Regions from separate parts of the Homo sapiens genome. Here region 1 is linked to region 2. The links are contacts of gene promoters, found by promoter capture Hi-C in human tissues and cell types (Jung and others, 2019). All regions are on one chromosome and are shown on one strand. Each heading gives the region's core, a stretch centred on a gene start or on the middle of the fragment in contact. The rest is flanking DNA. Distances are from core to core; before and after follow the strand shown.

The links. Contacts are between HindIII fragments. The study calls those that stand out against the background at their distance.
Region 1: a fragment that was not itself captured here is called in contact with the fragment with the promoter of UNC5C in region 2 in 1 of the 25 tissues and cell types used here (hippocampus).

The regions. Positions count from the first base shown.
Region 1 is chr4:95,499,548-95,506,840 of GRCh38, reverse strand. All of the region lies in intron 1 of UNC5C (unc-5 netrin receptor C), which reads left to right. Among named protein-coding and RNA genes, the nearest start is that of UNC5C, 46 kb to the left of the region's middle. The HindIII fragment of the contact is 4,063 bases long and covers 2,316-6,378 here.
Region 2 is chr4:95,545,969-95,552,921 of GRCh38, reverse strand. It overlaps UNC5C (unc-5 netrin receptor C), which reads left to right and starts at 3,949. Exons shown (of 16, transcript NM_003728.4): 1 at 3,949-4,188. The coding sequence starts at 4,065. UNC5C-AS1 (UNC5C antisense RNA 1) reads right to left here and starts at 3,774. Exons shown (of 5, transcript NR_183914.1): 1 at 3,691-3,774. RefSeq lists an enhancer at 3,378-3,507. The HindIII fragment of the contact is 1,524 bases long and covers 3,322-4,845 here.

The sequences.
Region 1 (7,293 bases), core at 3,098-5,597, 46 kb after region 2:
AGAGTAATAGTGAAAGAAAATCAGATGTATCCTGGATATTATCATTGGCATATAATATATATATTATTATCACCATATTGTGTGTATATATATGAAAGTATTTATTAGTTTTCTTAATGCAGTACAGCTATTTAACAACCCCAGATTGCTAAGGTTGTTACTGATTAATTTTTCCCAGATTTACCATCTGTCTGGGCTGACTACATAGCCATTTTGCTAGGGTTTTCTTCCCCGCCTCTGTAAAAATTAGCCTTACTCAACATGACGACTTTTTTAAAAATGTAAAGTAACACGTCATATATTATTACATCAAAGACCATTCAAAATAGCAACTTTTAAATATGTGAGTGACAGGATAAATTACTACCGAGTATTATGCTTAACATCACTATCACCTAGAGCCAAAAACCATCATGCAGTGTTGGTGGTTTGGTGACATATTTTGACTGGAATGTGCTGTGCTATTGGGCATCAGTCAAATGTGGTAATTTATGATAATTACTCATCTGAGGCAGATAAGAAAGCAACATCCTAAATACAAATACTGTCATAGCACTATTGCCCTGAACTGGTTGCCGCAGAGTTGAATATTCTGCAACAACTTTGTGATTTTACTTCCAATTTACTTTTGATTATTCTTATATGATATATAGAATCTTGTCTACTTTTATCTACATTTCCTGAGAAAGTAATAAAAATAAATGGCCCCACCTGTTAAGATTAAGATGAAAATTGAGATTTCATAATGAAAATAAAAATCAGATGGATGATGTAAATTTTAAAAAACATGTTTTCTCATCCTTTTCTTTTTTCCAGATACTAAGAGAAAAGGCACATGTCAGCATATTTTCTAGTCTTCTGGTAGCACTTTCAATAAAAAAAACCCTTTAGAGTTACTCTTTACCCTTGAAATGAGTTCAGTCTTGTATTCTTTGTATCTACTCTTGGTCTTCCTCAAAGACAAGATAAATCAGAGTTGTGACCTTACTCCTACTCTTTCTAGAAGACAGATTCTCATTTCTTTCAGAAACTATGGTGTTTGCCTTTTCAACATCTCCTGTATTTAAAAATTGACAGTCCCAGCAGTTTTACAGTTAGATATAAGGCTATATTGACACATATTTTCCCCCAGTAGTGAAGCAAGTGATAAATTCTTATGGAGAGCATGAAAGTTTCTAGAACAAAAATGCAATGTGCTTCATAATCTAAATCTGACAAGTGTTGAGGAAGAACTTTTCAAAATAATGATCAGACCAATTCGCTTTAGTTGCTTAAAATATTATGTCACCCAATGACAGAACCAAAAAAAGTGTTTATAAGGCATACTGCATAATTAGGAAGTAAATTCCTAAGATATATGGCTAATACAGCAGGGTTTGAATAGCTCCATTTCTAAAGCTGAATCATGGTCTTTGATGAGAGTGGGTTATAACAATGCAGGCTTTGAGAGCCTTGCAAAATCTCAATTAAGTTGCTGAAATGTTTCCACAGTTTATTTTTCTAGGATCTTTTCCATGACTGCTCGCTCATAAAGACCTGGCTGTGGAAGGAAATTGGACAGGAACTCTTGAATTGGCCTCTTGTTTGCCTAGTTCTATTGACCTGTACCAGGGTGGTTACACTTTGGAGGCCGTAAGTTGTTCATTTGCTACTGTTCTTAATCAATAAATTGTTCCTTGCCAATGAATAATTAGAATCAAATTCTGATAACGGACCAGTTAAAGCAGGGAGCAAAATTCTGAAATTAAGAAGTGAATATTTGTTGATTTTTCTCTTTGAGCCCCTGTCATATATAGCGTTGTCATTTTTATTTAGTAAGAGATTATTGGAATACTTGGGTAAATAAGCGTAAGTCTCTTATTTTAGATGGGTTGCATTTGAACACCTTAAAAATATAGAAGTTTTTTAATGAAAGCAATTGTATAAAAAATAAAAATTAATATCATAAGATCATAAAAACTATAAAACAGACCACCCCCAAATTTAAACTGCAATGAATGACATCATAGGGCAAAGACATTAGTTGATGATTCATATTAATGAGGGTATGCACACATATATGCATATGTAATATCTTTGCAAAAGCTTTTTAAAGAGCTGTTAATTTGATTTTGGCACAAAGGTTAATTTTTCGTGCCTTGTTATAATGTGTCAGCATTTTTTTGAAACCACAGCTCAATTTTGTTACTATATTTGTAGACCTGAAGTGACGTGTGTTTTTCTCCAATTTAAAAGAATTTTCTCCTTGCCTTTAAATAATAGACAAAATCCGTAATGAAATACCCCCTGAATTATTCAGTACCTTGATCATGATTATAATTTATGCTAGCTTTTTCAAGAGTGCTATTGAGAAGTTTAGTTTACAAAGATGTGATTCATATAACACATATATATGTTCTTTACATGTATCTGCCACAGACTTGGGTCAAGAGGAAATGATAGTTGCCCCAAATGGACAACTAGGAATTTGAAGACAGAAAGTTAAAGAAATGCTAAAAGTGCTGTTTGCTTTTTTGCTGTATTTAGAACTGAGCGGTGGGTAAGCTTGTTCAGAGGGGAGTGCTGTTTGCAGTAAGTAAGAGGCAGAAGCCCTAAGTGTTCAAAGACAAAGAAAAATGAAATACATTTGCCAAAAACTGGAGGACCAGGAAGTGCCATCTTATATTACCATCCACTGAATGTTCATTATTTCATAGAAAATGTCGGTGGGACTTCAAGAATAGGAGTCATGTTTTACTGCTAACATATGTGGAGTTAAGATAAAATCATGCATTACAAAACTGTAGGAAATAAGTGTTTAGGATTCTTAGTGATATTACATAGTGGTGATTGATTAATGACATAAATTTGAAATTCCTCTTGGACTGATGTGAACTGATAATTAGGGACTGTGGTGAAAGAGAAGAAAATGCCATAGAATTCTGAAACTAGAATTTGTTTTGTTATATCAAGGATACAAGTGAAAAATTTTCACTGAATATAAGTGAAATGGTGGGGGAGCAGATGGAAGCGGTCTTAACTGACAGCCAACAATGAGGAATTTGGAGGAGTGATGAGGGGCCATGCTATTTTATGCTTTTCTTAAAGAGTTGGCTAAATGGTTTTGAATATTCTTCAAGTAAAAGGACAGAAATATAATAAAAAGTACATAAAGCATGTTGATTATTCTATTATTTTAGCATCTTTTAATAAAGTTGCTAAAGGGTTTATTTTATTTGACATCTATTCTTTCAGAAGGTTTGTGTCCTGATGGCAGCCAGATGATATTAGAAAAAAGGAACTGAATTTGTTGCATTAGAAAATTATGTCAAATGACTCTCTAATAGACAATAAATTACAATTACAAATCAAAATAAAAGCCAACTTATTAATGTTACAAAAGAAGAGATGTATTGTCCAATAATTACAAACTTGAAGAAAATGGGTGACATATTGTCTTAGTTCATTTTGTGTTGCTATAACAGAATACCACAGACTGGCCAATTTAAAAAGAAAAAAAGTTCACAGTTCTGAAGGGTGGGAAGTTCAATATTAAGGTACCGGCAACTTTCTAGGGCCTTCTTGCTGTGTTATTCCATGGTGAAAGGGGAGAGGGTGAGAAAGGACATGAGAGAGAAACCAAGAAGGGGCCTCTCTTTTGTAACAAACCCACTCTAGAGTAACAACAATAATTCATTGATGAAGGCTGAGCCTACATGATCTAATCACCTCTTAAAAGACCACCTGTCAATACTGTTATATAGGGGATCAAGTTTCCAACACATGAATTTTGGGAGACACATTCAAGCCATAGCACATATGAACCAAACTTTTTCACTGAATAGGAAGTTAAGATATGGAATACACTTAGTGAATATAAATAAAAGTTAAAAGAGTAAATTTTGTAATGGACAAAGAGCAAATGTAAGGTTAGTCAGAGTCCAGGATAACATCATTTGAATAATCTTGGATGTGATATCTGTGCGATTCTTTGCGGGAGAGAAATTTTAAAGATTATGGTAATAGTTAATACCACTATAATATTCAATATAACCTGAACTTAAATCTGTGCTTTTCCCTAAGAGGAAGTTACAGGGAACAATTTTATTAAGATTTTCATACAATAAAACTGTCTATTTTCATTTTTAGTAATAATGAAAATGGTAACTGACATGTACTGAGTGCTTTCCACGTGTGTGTCAAGCCTGTGCTGAGCATTATATGCATTGTCGTGTAACTGCTCAGATTAAATGTAAGTCTAGCACAAAATGTTTGTCCATATAAGTCAAAAAATGTTGGCCGAGCACACCCCTATAATCTCAACACTTTGGGAGGCTGAGGCTGGAGGCCGGCTTGAAGCCAGGAGTTTAAAGACCAGTCTGGGCAACAAAGCAAGACCACATCTCTACCAAAAGAATTTTAAAAATAAGCTGGGCATGGTGGTGTGCAACTGTTGTCCCAGCTGCTTGGGAGGCCGAAAGGGGAGGATCGATTGAACCCAGGAGTTCAAGGCGGCAGAGAGCTATGATTGCACTACTGCAGGCAGCCTGGGCAACAGAGCAAGACCCTGCCTCTTTAAAAAAAAGTTTATATGATAATTATTTTCTGTTACATTTCTAATAAAGTTTCTAATCCAGTTTTTACAAGGTGATTGGGGGCCAGTCATAATCCATTGTTGCAACCAATCACACTGGAAGTAACATGTTCGTCATTAAAAGACCAACTGTAAATGCTCCTTTACTTTTGTCAAAACTAGTAATGAAGTAAGAACACAGCACCATGATACGAATTTTAAACATTCCTCAACTAATGGGCCATACTTTTAGAAGAAATAAAACAGTGGTCACTTCTTCAGAGGCTGATTTGTCAACATAACACTAAGGGAAAAGAAAAGTCCTCTCTTCTTCTGCTGTGGCTGAATCACCACAGGCTTCCAATCAAAAAATAAATATTTCCAACATAAGAGGAAGGAAGCTTTGGTAAATATATGTATATATTTTTCAAAAACTGTTTTACATGAAAGAGGTCATTCATCACTGTAAGAATATTTTCAAAGGTAGCATCAGACGTGAAATTCAAAACTCCCTCAAAACTGAATCCTGAAAAAAGAACTATAACAGACAAAAGAATCCTTGGGTTTATATGTGTTCCTGGATTCTCTGATTTGCCTTTATAATACTTTCACAAGCTATAGTTTATTATTTTTAAAACCACTTTACTTCAAAATTATTGTATTTCAGCATCTAATCCATACACATGTAATAAGAGGAGCCAAATAATTTATTAATTTAACAATAGTGATGGAGATTTCTGCACTCATTAGCATGTAACAATATTCATATTTGTTAGGTTGAAAATGACCTTTGCCCTATGAAAAGTTTTGTTAAGCTAATTAGTAACAAAAAATATGTTGCAAATGGACATTGTTAGCCTCCTTAAAAAGCAAACTTCTTTTAACTTCTCTTAATTAAATAGCAAAATTATGTGTAAATACTGTATTTGTGGAATGATTGATACTTGTTGCTGACCAAAAAAGCCCTAAATTATAGTCTAGTTTTCAGAATTCTGAGCCAATAAAAAAAATGCCTCTAGCTAGTTCTTTTAAAGAACACAAGCCCACACTGAACAGAGGGCTAGCTGCTTATATGTCATTAAAAAGCAAAACCTAATTGTACTATCATGTATTTATTGCGTCTATAAAGCACCTTCCAAGAACTTAAGTAAGAACATTAATTTGTACCTGTATTTTAATGCAGAAGTAGAATTCCATCTCTTTCAGTGCTTATGAGTTTGGTGTTTTAATTCCACCCCAAATTACCTAAATTCTACAAATATTTATTAACACACAGGGAGTAGTATTATTCTAAGAGTTTTTCGACTAATGATCATGCAGTAGTATCTAAAATAGCTATTGATGTTAGAAAGTTGTAACATTTCTTTTCCATGTAATAGCACATGATATGCCCAAGGGAAAAAATATACGGTATTTGTACATAAACCCAATCAAGGTGATATCAGTGGGACTGAATTTTTCTTCCTTAAATAACCAGTAAATGAAAATTGCTCTCTAGCATCTCAAAGGAGAAAATGCTAAAAACTATTAGCTAACAGAGCTTTCTGCCTGGCTGCATTAATTTTCTATTCATTTTAGTAAAAGGAAAGTTTTGATAGGCCTTATAAATTACAACATGTTCCTAGTAGACTAATAGCTTGAGGAAGAACATATAATAGCTCTCCTTAATCAAAATAAGAGCAAGTTGTTGTTTATGCAGCTGAGGAACCTTGGATCAAGGGTGCTGATTTTATTATTTCGATGCCAAAACAAAAGTAATCCATATAAACATGACCAATGTTTAGAAAGGTTAGGAAAAAACTTATTAATGTGGCTCTAGCAGGCAGAGTTTTTTGGGAACTCATCCATTTTTTATAACTAGCTTGTTTTTTTTAGAACTTAATATGGCCAGACATTGTTGTATAAGCACAAGGGCCATCATATTGAGCAAAACACTTCTATAGTCCCTGTTCTCATGGAATTTATTGTCTGGCAAGAAACCAAATGGGTAGAATAAGGTTTGTAGGACTTTAAACTCCTTCAAAACTGGAGACCATCTAACTATTTATTCGTTGTGGCATGATAAGGTGCTAAGAATGAAACCAAAATGGAAATAATATTTATGTTCTATTAATATTAAAAAGAAAATCCTGCAGCACTTCTGTGAACTGGGTGTTATAGGACTGGCTGATCCCAAAACAAAACTCCTACGTTTTTATCATTTATATTAAGTTTCCATGTCAATTGGTTTTACTGGTCAAACTACCTTTAGTTCATCTACTATTGAGTCAGACACTAAAGGTGTATTAAGTCTTCCAAGGATGGAGGGATTATCCTCATGTGCCTACTGTTTCCTGAAATTTAAATCTGCACTGAATGGCCTAGGATGTATAGACAGTTAACCTCCCTGAAACACAGCCTATCCTTTTTTGTTAATTTCCACAGTGAATGACAGTTCTTTAATATCTATCTTTTCCTCCCCAGTGCTCCCATCTTATATATGTGCACATACATACCTCCAACTTCTAACCGGACATCAATGTAAACTTACCTTAATAGCTTTGGCAGATACCTGTGATCAAGGGGAGGGAGCTTACTGGAGTGTGTTTGGTCTCCCTGGAAGACTGAAGGGGTTTAGGTTTCCTGTAATTGACTCCTGTGCTCCTCCCTTTTTCTCCCCACAACTTCACTTCTCTCGCCAGATCAGTGTCAGTAGGTAAGTAAATCCATTATTTGAAAGCTGTCTGTTGACCTTTTCTTCA
Region 2 (6,953 bases), core at 2,700-5,199:
ATGAAGATTTATTTTTAAACCTACACAAAAAATATAAAAAGTGAGGAATCAAACATATAAGGAGAGAGATACAATGAAAGAAAATATTTCCATAATTAAAATATATGATCAATTGTTTTTGATTTAAGCTTTAAACTGGAAACTTTTTCAGTACTAGTTCCGAGTAAATGATATTATTATGAAGCAGCCTACATGCTAAATAGCATACTTTTCTTGGTGTAGATTTCTGGAGGGATATGCAGGGGATTTGCATGCTTAATTCCCATTAGCACCTGTCACTGGGATTTATTATCCTAGAGTTAATTCTCCACTCACTGCAGCCAAGAAAAAGAAAGCCCTTGTATATGGATTTAAATGAAGCTTTTCATTTTTCAAGATGAGATGAATTTCCTGTCTGTTCCTTAAACACCTGCAGTATTCCAACCCTAAAAAGTCAAATTCCAATAAATTTTTGGTGAAAATTTGGCAAAACTTGATTTTATTCAACAACTAGAAAAGCCTACTCATAATTTGATAACTTGAGAGGCTGAAGAGGAGAGGAAGAAGGTTTAATGAAGGACTTAGCTCAATTTTAAATCCATTGGTTCTGATTCAATCCATTCAATATTCAGTAAGTATTTATTGATCACCTATTATGTACAAGGTATTGTTCCAGGTTCTGGGTATAGAGCACTGAATGTATTAGAAAAAAATTTCTCCCCTGAGAAGCATACATTTTATTGCAGACTGCATATATATATACATGTATACACACACACACACACAAATATATATATACACATATATGTACATATATAAAGTAAGTGTTATATGCAAAATCAAAGCTGGCAAATGATATTTTGGATGATAGATTGTTGCTATTTTAGGTAACTTGATCAGTGAATGCCTCCCTAAGCAGTGTCATTTGAACCCAGATCTCGATGACTTTAGTAAACCTATTCTCAGGAGCCTATAAAACACTATTATTTCTCTCATGAGGAAAAAATGTGATGATCAACAAAAGTAGTCAGGATGTTAATTCACAAGACAAGTTCCATCTGTACTTGTAGAGAGCAGGAAACTTGCCTGCTGTGTAAAGCTGATGTATTGCTGGTGTTTTTCCTGTCCTTTGTGTGGTGCTCTCACTCTCTTCCCCCTTTTCCACCTCATTACTCTATACCACTTCTCAAACCATTCTCCTGCCATCTTTAGGCTGAATTTCAGTATTTAACTACATTTCCTCTTTTAATCTCGTATTCTTTATTTTAAGGAACTAATTGCATGTGGTATCTGTCACTGAGTACCTCAATACCCCAAACAGGAGTAGGCGACAATTTCAACCTTCTTTAGCTGTCCTAGACTTTGAGGAGTCTTCCCCATTGAGCTTTTTTGGCAGGAAATCAGTCAATATTGATTGAGTACCAACTATATATCAGGCTCAGTTTAGGAGCTGTGGTTGAAATAATGAACAAAGGCAAAATCTCTGTCTTAAAAGAGTTAAATTCTAATTTAAGAAGACAGGCAATAAAATTGTAAATAAATAACTTTTGGATGTCGTTGATGTGATGGTGAGTATGTGTGGAGATTTCTTAGTACTTAAGCTGTTGTCCTTCTTAGTAAAATTGTACATATAAATATAAAGTATAATAATAATCCCTTGTGAAGTCATTCTCAAAATACTTGACAAGTTATTAGTGGCCTCGATACACCATAAAATATGGTAGCTGCTGGCCACATGTGACTATTTAAATTAAAATTAAATAAAAATTTCCAATTCACACTAGCCACATTGCATGCAAGTAGCCACATGTATCTCATAACTACGACCTCAGAAAGTACAGATATGAACATGTTCTTCATTGCAGAAATTTCTGCTGAACAGCACTGGTGTAGATAGCATGAGGCTAATGGGAATTTTTCATCAATGGTAAGAACAGCAGTTTACAATTTTGGCGTCAGGCATTTTACATATGTTTAACTTACATAATCCTCAAATAACCCTATGAGATAGTTCCTGTTACTAGACCCATCTTACAAATTAGGGAAGAGAGGCACCTAGCTTTAATGTTCAATATCAGTCAAGTAATAAGAAATGCTAAGAACTGAAGGCAGACAGTCTGGTGCCAGCACCCACCCTGTTGTCAAATATCTTGATGTCTTGGTATGGAGAAGATGAAGAGAGTGAAGAAGGGTTTTGTGTGGTGGACAGAGTCTCCACAGAAATAAGAAGTGGCCAGTTTTGTCAATGTCTTTGGCAAATACTACCTTTTCGGATCTCCCTGATTCATCCGAGATAGGTCTTATTGCCTAGATGGGGCTGTGCAGGCAGAATCATAGAATGTTAGAACTTAAGAGAACTTTGAAACTATCAAAATATTTCACAAATGAAGAAACTGAGACATTCACAGGTTACCTGACTTACCCAGGGTAACAGAGTAGTTATGACCACAGCCAAAATTAGACCTCATGTTTCCTGCGTGTGTGTGTGCATGCGTGTTTACACATGGCCCCCTTGGCACCAAGAGCATAAAATTCCCTGATGTATTATTAGTTTAAAGACATGCTAATCTTGGGAAGTGATTTTCTTTTTCCCAAAATGTTGTCTGTGTCTGTGTGTTGACCTTTTAATAAATTCACTTTCCTTTTGTCTAGTCTTATTTTACCCACCCAATCTTGCATCCCTCCATCATGACCACAGGGATTCACAACCCAGCTACGTAGACAATTATTTCCTGTAGAAAGGTAAACAAATTCATAGCAGCTCGAGTTCTTACACACACTATTAGAAATTTGAAAAACATGTTATAGGCTCCACCATCACTTTGAGTATCTACAAATTTTGCTTTGCATTTTTTTTTTCTAAGAGAGTTTCTCTCGGTATCGCATCACCACCCTTGTCAGCCACCAACATGCACGCAAAGAAAGCACTGTTGCAGAATGAGTTTCCGTCGAGCTTTTAGTTTCTGTTCCACTGCAAAGGGGTCATACGCGCTCAGAACATAAAGCAGTCTGACTGGCGCTGACAACCCCAGGACAGCAGCCGGCTGGGGCAGTGCAAAAGCTTCATGCCTTCTTCCCCAACCAAGAAGGACTTCAGTTCGAGCCCGCACCGGCTTCGTCAACCGCGAGACCCGAAGTCGTAGACCGAGTCCAGTCCTAGGGAATTCGGCTGAGGCTTTGCCGGCGCGGCGAAGAAGGTGGCAGGCGGCAGGCTGAGCTCCACTGGACACAGCCTAGTGGCCCGGGGCGCGCCCGCTGCACTCCCGGCGTCCAGGTCTGGCGCACCGCGGGAGGCAGGCGCGCTGCCACTCTCCGCAGCCGCTTCGTCCCCTGGTCTGTCTCGCCTCGGCTTCAGCGGGCAAACCCACAGCTGGTCTCCTGGGCGCTGATCTCCCTGCAATCCTTGCTTACATAAGGCGGGCGGGCGTGCTCCCGCCCCCGGTTACCCCCCAGAGGAGTTGTGCTGCGCCCTCTACGCCTCCTTGGCGAGCGCCTTCGCGCACCCGTGCGCCCTACTCTAGGATGTGAACCTCCTTGGCCACCCAGCAGCGACAGCCGGGACATCTCTCCGCCGGCGTGAGAACACTGAGATTGGAGACCAGAGCGCCTGACGGTGCCCAAGCTTCCTCCCTCCGTTCCCTCCTCCTCCAACTCCCCCCACTTCAACCCCCACCCCCACCCCCACCCCCGGTGTCTGTGTGTGTTCCTCACAGGCGAGGGGACCCGGAGAGCAGTCCAGACTTCGGCGTGCGGCGGAGCTGCGGCTGCTCCTGCTGCTGGGGGGAGCGGCGGAGGTGGCCGCCTTGCGCCTCCCTGGACTTCCCAAGTGGGGGCAGAGCAGTCGCTCGCGGGAGACGTCAGTTAGAAGGCATTGGGAAAGAGGGACCTTCAAACTCCTCCTCGGCGTCTCCTCTCCTCCCCCTTTTGGCCCCTGCCTTTGGAGAAAGTGGAGTGTGGCGCTTGGTTGTCGTTATTTCTTCGGACTGCTTCGCGGTGCACGGATTCAGCTTCTGCCCAGTGGGGCTTTCAGCTGTTTGCGCGTCTCTCTGTCCCCCTCCCCTCCCCCCGGCACACCTCTGTCTACGATGAGGAAAGGTCTGCGGGCGACAGCGGCCCGCTGCGGACTGGGACTGGGATACTTGCTGCAAATGCTCGTGCTACCTGCCCTGGCCCTGCTCAGCGCCAGCGGCACTGGCTCCGCCGCCCAAGGTAAGGGGGTCCGCCAAGCTCCGCGGCCACCTCCCTTAGCTTCTTCCTTCCCTCCTTCCTCTCCTCCTCCCCAGTTCTCTTGACTTCCTCAATTTGCCTCGTTGCTTTCAACTGGAAACCACTCTAAATTCCACTTTCCCAACTAGTCAAGAAGCTTTGATTATAATAATAATAATTATTATTATTATTATGTTTAATCTATCTTCTGAGATGGGCACGAATGGACCAGGGACGAACGGGGTGTGGACACGCAGCCGATCCGTCTCCATACGTGTGGGAGCCTGGAGTGTCTTGTGCCCTTTCAGCTCCGCACGCGCACGTTGTTGCATATTGCACACACGGAGGTTTGGAAAGACTCTCGGTGCGGGTGGCTGTGTGACATACCGTAGATGCACCCCGAAGCGCATGATGCGCAGAGGCTCCCCGCGCTGTGCCAAGACTGGGGTAGCAGGATCTTCACTGAGTCTCTGAGCACACTAGACCCCGAAGGGCGCTCAGCTAAGGAAATGTGTCCATTACTGTCAAGGACTCAAAAGCACCCGTCCCCCTCGCCTGCTGCTTCAGGTGCTGTGGAAATACACAGCTCACCCGAATCCGCGTACCCGGCTGGAGGCAGGCCCGGGATGTGCATGCCTCTGCACTCATACATACCCCGCTTCATGCCTGCTTCCCACCAGGGGATGTAGAAATGAAAATCCCGGAGCTCTGGGGGAACCGGCTGCTTGTTCAAACCAAATCCGAAACTCCCCGGGGTAGTCGACCAGTTTATAACTCTGACATTTTAATTTAACGCCTGTGAACTTTAACATAAGTGACCGGGGCCCTGGGCGAAGCCGGGTTGGGAAGAGTGTGGCCGGGAGTTGGGGATGGGTAAGGGAGGAGGGGAGGCTCCGGAGCTGATCGCCCGGCTCCCTTCTTGTCCGCCTAGTTTGAAGTGTTAGCAGCAGCTCCCAGCCTTCAAAGCCGGGAAAGCTGACTGGAAGGGAGCGCAGAAGAAAGAGCCAAGGCTGTCCCCTCCGGGGTCTCTTTCAGGTCACCTGGGCCCCAAAACTTCTGGCCAAGCCCAGCTCCTACTTGGGTCTCTTAGCCCACTTCAGTGGTGATAGCCGGCTCAGGCGAGGCAGCTCAGCTTTTCCTGGAAGAGGAGAGAATGAAGGAAGCTTATGCAGCATTCAGAGGCAATTCAGGGATTCTCCCTTCACTCTCGGTTACTCTTCCTTCCAAATTTGGAGAGTAAAGGGAGGCTTTACGATAGCCCCAACTCCCCAGGTGATGTTCAGACACCCTAGGGTTTCCGGACAGCATTCCCTCTGATCTTAGAGAGGCGCTGGGGGTGGGGATGGGGGTGTTGGAAGCGGAGGAGAGCGCCTAGCATAGGAGTGCGGTCTGGGTGGAGAGGTAAGTGATTAGCAAGGCTTTGTGAATTAGCGATAGCTTCTTCGGAAGTAAATTTTCCTGCTGCCCTGCTAAGTGGCCCTGCTCATAAATCCTTCCTTCCTTTCTCGCCAGATGCCTCCCATCCCTGAGGTTCTGCTCTGGTTTTCTTATGCACACCTCCAGAGTTCATCTGTCTGTCTATTTAAAAAGGAATCTCCACCGAGAATCATAGCTTGTGGATTTCCTAAAATTGATAAGAAGTTCTCAGGGCGCTAGCCAAGGGTGCTTAGAGGGGGGTGTTTGGAAGCTTAAGTGAACAACCTTATGAATAGTCGTGGAATCAACCGCGCGACTCCCTGTGGAATTCGCCTGCTGTTACTGGGCATACAAAGGACTGAGCCATGGGGGTGGGTGGCGGGAGAGGGGGACGGGGCACGGTGAGAGAACTGTTTGGGAAAAAGACAAGTTAAAGTCCCCAAAGATGCCAAACAAGAGATAGGATTCCTGCTAAGAGCTTACAATAACCAAATTAAAAAGACTGGGTAGAAAAAGGATCAATAAAGATAATCAAACAGCAGATTGTAAATGGATTAATATTGAAAGAAGAAGGGAGAAGAGATTAAAAAGAAAAGATGCTTAGGATAGACTTTTTCTCTTGCACTTTTTGTAGCGTAGGCAAGTTAAAGATTGGGGACTGATTCTCATCTTAAGTGGAAAAAGAAAATGTACTCCGTTGGGTGTATGCATTTCACTGCAGTTCTTGTCCATTTCGTTTATTTAGTTCCTTCAGTTTTTGATTAGTAAAATTTTTGTTTGAATCTCATGGTCTGTAAAATGCACTATTCCACCGCTTTTATCTTTGTTATCCTCCATGTTCCAGGGATAGCAGCTCTTCCTGTGTTGTCTGTTAGTTATCAAAGGAAGGATAAAGCACCAAACTCCACTATCAGCTACTACCTTCATCACTGCAGTACAGTAACCCAGCCTGTTTATCTTGAGCCACCGTTAACACTTTCCTTGCAGAATCACACATTTTATAAATGGTCTGATAGTCAGACCTCCTTTTCCTTCTTATTCTTCTTCTTTCTCCTTTCCTTGGACTAGAACACTAGCCCATACCCTCAAGGTATGATTTCCTTGTGGTGATGACTTAAAGATCCAAATGAACTATTTCTTATGAATGAAAGTCCAAGAGCAATTAACATGGGAAAGTTACTTTAAGCACTTTACAATGTGGATGAGGTTTTTATTCTGTTGCTGAAGTACTGCAAAAATTAGAAGTATGTATATATATCTTCAGAGATAATCAAGGAAACAACAGATATTTAAGATAAAACATAGAATAGGCATTATTTGTGAGTGTACTGAGTTTTGTAACTGTGGTTTAG